Linked DNA regions of Homo sapiens: region 2 is linked to region 1. The links are contacts of gene promoters, found by promoter capture Hi-C in human tissues and cell types (Jung and others, 2019). All regions are on one chromosome and are shown on one strand. The core of a region is centred on a gene start or on the middle of the fragment in contact, and the rest is flanking DNA. Distances in the headings are between cores, read along the strand shown.

Evidence for each region. Contacts are between HindIII fragments. The study calls those that stand out against the background at their distance.
Region 2: a fragment that was not itself captured here is called in contact with the fragment with the promoter of TAF2 in region 1 in 1 of the 25 tissues and cell types used here (mesendoderm cells).

What each region holds. Positions count from the first base shown.
Region 1 is chr8:119,830,476-119,834,144 of GRCh38, forward strand. It overlaps TAF2 (TATA-box binding protein associated factor 2), which reads right to left and starts at 2,366. Exons shown (of 26, transcript NM_003184.4): 1 at 2,007-2,366; 2 at 1,202-1,256. The coding sequence starts at 2,089. DSCC1 (DNA replication and sister chromatid cohesion 1) reads right to left here. Exons shown (of 9, transcript NM_024094.3): 9 at 3,501-3,669. LOC105375728 (a long non-coding RNA gene) reads left to right here and starts at 2,404. Exons shown (of 4, transcript XR_928590.3): 1 at 2,404-2,601. RefSeq lists enhancers at 2,018-2,067, 2,128-2,487. The HindIII fragment of the contact is 6,114 bases long and covers 1,947-3,669 here.
Region 2 is chr8:119,770,495-119,773,802 of GRCh38, forward strand. The region is part of intron 18 of TAF2 (TATA-box binding protein associated factor 2); the gene reads right to left. Among named protein-coding and RNA genes, the nearest start is that of TAF2, 61 kb to the right of the region's middle. The HindIII fragment of the contact is 3,653 bases long and covers 1-3,248 here.

The DNA.
Region 1 (3,669 bases), core at 1,116-3,615:
CCTTATCTTTCCTACCCAATTCATACAACATAATACAACTCAAGTATCCTACTATATAAGATATAAGGTACATAACCTAGGGAAGACTGCATGAGAAATTCCATAAACGAGGAGACTAAATTTAATAAATCTTTTAGGAACATTACAAATCTAAGATTCTATGACTCATGAAAAGCGACATTTTTCTATCTATTCAGCTTATCCTAAGTAAATATATACATACATGGGTAACAAATCTGACAGAGAAGTTGATACCATCACTCAAGGAAAACCAGCTCTCATTAACATTTTAGCCTATGTAATAAAGGTAGCCCTAAGAAAGTAAATTAAATAAATACTTGAGTTTTCAGCCAGGTGCAGTGGTTCATGCCTGTAATCCCAGCATTTTGGGAGGCAGAGGCAGGTGAATCACTTGAGGTCAGGAGTTCGAGACCAGCCTGGCCAACATGGAGAAAACTCTGACTCCATTAAAAATACACAAATAAGCTGGGCGTGGTCATGCACACCTGTAATTCAAGCTACTTGGGAGGCTGAGGTAGGACAACTGCTTGAACCCAGGAGGTGGAGGTTGCAGTGAGCCAAGATCACAGCACTGCACTCCAGCCTCAGTGACAGAGCGAGACTCTGTCTCCAAAAACAAACAAACAAACAAAAAACTTGAATGTTCAAGCTTTTTCCTAAAATTGATTATATCAGCAATCCATACATCTAAATTGTGTCGGGAGGCAGGGGGAGGTAGAGGGTTTCTAGATCTCAAATACTCTATCTAAAACTTCATTACAAAGCAACATCACCTAAACCAAGTCAGTCAAGAAGCAAAAATGGCCTCTTAGAAGCCAAGTCAGTGAGTGTATTAATCTTAATTTTTTTCATAGAAGAAATGTCGCTATGGGCTTATACTTGTTTCATGCACAATTATAAAATGCTTGGCTATACAGGCTTTCATATTATACACCAGATAAAGAGGAATAAAATTTTAATTAGGAAATTGAAAAAAAAGGAAAGGGAGAATTTGGGAGGCAATAGGTATTAATAGAAGGACCATGGAACTTGTAATCATACAGACCCTAATTTTAATTCTTACCTATTCTTGAAACACAATTATCTGGAAGACTACAAACTTTCTAAGTACTGTGAGGGGTGGATTGTTACTCTTTATAGTGGACTTGTTACTATTTATAATTGTTGAGAATAAACTTACCACAACAGATTTTCTCTGGAAATTTATGTTGTTGATGCAGACGACCTGATGGGTTGTATATTAATAAATATAAAAAGAAAATAAGGAAAAAATAATTTTTATTATTAAATCAAAGTATAATTCTATCCAAGTATAAATTAGGACTATGTTCTAAGTAATTCAAAATTACATGTCAATATTTCATTTTAAAACTACGAATTGGGGCCTGGTGCGGTGGCTCACGCCTGTAATCCCAGCACTTTGGGAGGCCACGGCAAGCGGATCACGAGGTCAAGAGTTCGAGACCAGCCTGGCCAACAGAGTGAAACCGAGTCTCTACTAAAAATACAAAAGTTAGCCGGGCATCGTGGCACACGCCTGTAATCCCGGCTACTCAGGAGGCTGAGCCAGGAGAAAAGCTTGAACCCGGCAGGTGGAGGCTGCAGTGAGCCGAGATCGCGCCGTTGCACTCCAGCCTGGGCGACTGAGAGACTCCGTCTTAAAAATTAAAAAATTAAAAAAAAAAAAACACTCTACCAATTGGGATAATTTTTTAAAATCTAGCAACAGTCACGAAAACAGATTTGACAGAAATACAATCTAGTACTTAGACAAAAACTTTAGTAACTTGCAACGGGAATTAAATTTGCTGAATAACCTGTCATTCAAAACATTTTTACCTTACAAACACCATTTCCATCACAGTGAGTAAATTCTAGTTTCCCACTAGGTTTCCCAGGCCCACCAAGTCAATTTCAAGCAATCGCAAAATATAATTAATGGCAACAAAACCAAAAGGAAGGAAGGGAAATGAAAAAATACTTATAATTTATATGGCCTTGGGCTTTCAAAGCCCTTGTCTCCTTTCTTCCTGTTCATTCTGGCGGGCTCTACACCAGTCAGCGGCATGAAGCGGTCCCGCGGAGCTTGGCTTCCCGGCTTCCTAGGGGGATACGGGGCATTACTAGTCTTTGGCACCTCACACTCTCCACTCCCCTGCGGTCCCCAAGTCACGTCTCGCAGCTGGCCGGTGCCCAGGTGAGCGACCTGACGGGTCGCTGCCCGCCTCAACCTCGCTCCTTCGACTAGCTCCTAGAAGCCGCCGTCGACAAGCTTCTGTCACAGAGATGCTCCTCTCCGCAAGGGCTCGAAGCTACCATCCGCCGACATCTTGTCTGTAACCTCTGACCTCCGACGTCAGCGGAAGTGGAACGGCGGCGGGGGTAGAACCAGGAAGTCTTGTCAATGGGCAGGGCTTGCGATCTTCGCATGTGTCTTATCGTAAAGAATTGTTAAAATTTAGGATAGGGAAAAAACTATTTAATGGATGAAGCGAGAACAGCAGGAAGAAAAGGAGGGAAGGTAGTTTTCTAGTACAAGCATATTGAGAAGAATGGAGGACAAAGTTTGCGAAGAGCCAGGTATAAATAGGCTGGGGCAGGGTGCTAGTAACTGGGCGGGGTGGGGTGGTGGGAAGTCTCCCGAAATCAGGAGGTGCGTGCCTCTGGCTTGCTGTGTGAACAGACACACTGGGTCCGGTGATTTAAGCTGTAAAATATGTGATTAGACTGCAGGTAGTCTAAATGTCAAAACTGCAGCACTCCACAGCTCTCACTAGGCACTGCTGCCTTAGTATTTATTTTAAAATATAGATTACAAGGCCGGGCGCAGTGGCTCACTCCTGTAATCCCAACACTTTGGGAGGCCGAGGCGGGCCGATCATTTGAGGTCAGGAGTTCGAGACCAGCCTGACCAACATGGTGAAACCCCGTCTCTACTAAAAATTACACAAAATTAGCTGGGCGTGGTGGTGCACGCCTGTAATCCCAGCTACTTGGGAGGCTGGGGCAGGAGAATTGCTTGAACCTGGGAGACGGAAGTTGCAGCGAGCTGAGATCGTTCCACTGCACTCCAGCCTGGGCGACAGAGCTGAGACTGTCTCAGAAAAAAAAAAAAAGAATAAAATATAGACTACAGGCCAGGCGTGGTGGCTCACGCCTGTAATCCTAGCACTTAGGGAAACTGAGGCAGTCATATCACTTGAGGTCAGCAGTTCAAGACCAGCCTGGCCAACATGGTGAAAGCCCGTCTCTAGTAAAAATACAAAAATTAGCCCTGCGTCGTGGCGTGCGCCTGTATTCCCAGCCACTCGGGAGGGTGAGGCACCAGAATCACCTGAACTCGGGAAGCCGAGTTTGCAGTGAGCTGAGATCATGCCATTGCACTCCAGTCTGGGAGACAAAGCGAGACTCCCTCTCAAAATAAATAAATAGACTACATAGAGATATATAGACTGTGTATATATATCATATAATCCATATAAATGCAGAAACATTTATTGAAAGACATTTCGAAGCCATCGTGTTTGTATTTCATGTTCATGACAATAAAACTTGTAAACTTCAGTAACAGTTAAACCTTCTTTAATTATGGATTAGCCATTAACATTTTTGAAACGTGGACCATTTAACCTCGGCCTACCCCCTCCA
Region 2 (3,308 bases), core at 172-2,671, 61 kb before region 1:
CAAGCTTCATAAATGAAGGAAAAATAAAGTATTTCCCAGACAAGCAAATCAAGGGGAATTCATCACCACTAGAACAGACCTATAATAAATGCTCAAAGGAGTTCTAAATATAGAAATGAAAGGATGACACTCACCAACATAAAAGCACATGCAAGCAGAAAGCTCACAGATCCTATAATTACACAATTAAGGCCCCAAGGCAACTACCCACAACACTATGACAGGAAGAAAACCTCACATTTCAATATTAACCTTGAACAGAAATGGCATAAATGCTCCACTTAAAATATATAGAGTGGCCAGGTGCAGTGGCTCACGCCTGTAATCCTACCACTTTGGGAGACTGAGGGCGGACTGCCTGAACTCAGGAGTTCGAGACTAGCCTGGGCAACATGGTGAAAACCTGTCTCTACTAAAATACAAAAAATTAGCTGGGCCTGGTGGCATGCACCTGTAGTCCCAGCTACACAGGAGGCTGAGGCAGAAGAACTGCTTGAACCTGGGAGGTGGAGGTTGCAGTGAGCTGAGATCACGCCACTGCACTCCAGCCTGGGCGACAGAGCGAGACTCCGTCTCTTAAAAAAAAAGATATAGAATGGCATGTTGGATAAAAAACAAGACACTACCATCTATTGCCTAGAAGAGACCCCCTCAATGACAAAAGACACCTACAGACTCAAAGTAAAGGGATGGAAAAAGATATACTACGCAAATGAAAAATAAAAGCAAGCAGGAGTAGCCATTCTTTTTTACTTTTTTGAGACAGGTTCTCGCTCTGTTGCCCAGGATGGAGTGCTGTGGTGCAACCTCGGCTCACTGCAACCTCCCCGTCCTAGGTTCAAGTGACTCTCCTGCCTCAGCCTCCTGAGTAGCTGGGATTACAAGCATGTGCGACCACACCTGGCTAATTTTTGTATTTTCAGTAGAGACGAGGTTTCACCATGTTGGCCAGGCTGATCTTGTACTCCTGACTTCAAGCAATCTGCCCTCCTCGACCTCCGAAAGTGCTGGGATTACAGGAATAAGCCACTGTGCCCGGCCACGAGTAGCCATTCTTACATCAGATAAAATAGACTTTAAACTGACAATAGTAAAGAAAGAAAGAAGCAAAATGAAAGGCATTATATACTGACGAAGTTTAAAACAAAACCAAGAATTAATTTTATACACACCCAACACTGGAGCACCCAGATTCATAAAACAACACCTACACCTAAGAAGAGATTGACAGCAATGCAATAATAGTGGTGGACTTCAACACCCCACTGAAAACACTAGATAGGTCATTGAGGCAGAAAGTCAACAAAGAAACTCTGGACTTAAACTAGAATCTAGACCAAATGGACCTAACAGACATTTACAGATCATTCTACCCACAACTGCAGAATATACGTTTTTCTCATCTGAACATGGAACATTCCCCCAAACTGACCACATGCTTGGCTAAAATGCAAAATCTCAATAAATTAAAAAAAATCAAAAATATCAAGTATCTTCTCAGACCACAGTGGAATAAAATTACAAATCAATATCAAGAGGAACTCTCAAAACTACATGAGCAAATGGAAACTGAACAACTTGATCCTGAATGACTTTTGGCTAAGCAATAAAATCAAGACAAATAAAAAAAAGAATGAAAATAGAGATACAACATACCAAAACCTCTTGGATACAGCAAAAGCAATGCTAAGAGTAAAGTTTATTGCATTGCATGCCTACATCAAAAAGAGAGATCTCAAATTAACAACCTACTTTGGATTGAACAAAGAAAATGTAGTCACAAAAAAGAACAAAATAGTCTTGTGCAGCAACATGACTGCAGTTGGAAGCCATTATCCTAAGTGAAATAACTTAGAAACAGACAAATACCATATCCTCTCACTTGTAAGTGGGAACTAAACAATGGGAACACATGGACATAAAGAAGGAAATAATAGAAACTGGGAATTCCAAAAGAGCGGAGGCTAGGAGGGAAGCGAGGGTTGAAAAATTACCTATTGGGTACAACGGTTACTACTCGGGTAATGGGTACACTAGAAGTCCAAACCCAACTGTTAGGTAACATATCAATGTAAAAACCCGCAGACCTACCCACCCCTTGAATCTAAAATAAATTTTTAAAAGATACACAATATAAAATAATAATATTAATTAAAATAAGGCCGGGTGTGGTGGCTCACGCTTGTAATCCCAGCACTTTGGGAGGCCAAGGTGGGCAGATCACCTGAGGTCAGGAGTTCGAGACCAGCCTGGCCAACATGGTGAAACCCCGTCTCTACTAAAAATACAAAAATTAGCTGGGCGTGGTGGCAGACACCTATAATCCCAATTACTCAGGAGGCTGAGGCAGGAGAATCACTTGAACCCAGGAGGTGGAGGTTGCAGTGAGCCGAGATCATGCCACTGCACTCCAGTCTGGTTAACAAGAGACAGACTCCATCTCAAATAATAATAATAATAATAATAACAATAATAATATTACTTAAAATAAGAAAATGCAGGAAAAGCACTTATGGTACCAAGAATGTACTAAGCACTCAATAAGTGAACATCAGAATCAACATCATCATTATTGAAAAAGCAAGCTTGGATTTTCTCAAAAAAAAAAAAAACCTATGGTTACCTTTCTTTAAAATTTTCCTTTTTTAAAAAGATAGGAGAAGAAATAATAGCAAAATTTAGCTACAAAATTAAACAGCACAATTACCTAATAAGTAGATTATTCTTTTCCAAATAGCATTGTGCTAAAGCTATTCTTATAATACACTACCATTTCTATTTATGTAAAAAAAAATACAAAGAAGTCTTAAGAGCTCAGTTTGCTGATAAGTTCCAAGTTAAAAGTTGATATACTTTCCATAACTTTCTAAATTCTAAATCAATCCCTCATTTCTTCAAGGCTACAATTATTTTCCCAACCCTTTCTCCCCATTCTTACTCCCCACCATCCTCTCTCAGATTTCTTAGACTTACAGAGGGTTAAATTTATATCTATATCCTCTTTGTACTTACATAATTTATACAATAATAGAAACTGGATTTATAGTAGGAGTTAAGATACTCACATCTTATGAGGTAAGTAAAAATATGAGGAAGATGGATCCATTTTCAAGAAATATGCCAAAAGTTATAAAAATAACTTCTAAAATAATGATCTTGAAACCTCTCAAATTCAATAAGCTCCCTCTCTATATATAGATTCTATAATTGACCACATATTCCTCCTCTCCTGTTCTTTCACCTCAACAACTTACAGCTCTCTCTAGATTCAACCTTTCCCAGGAAGCCTTTTCTGGCTTCCCCATCCT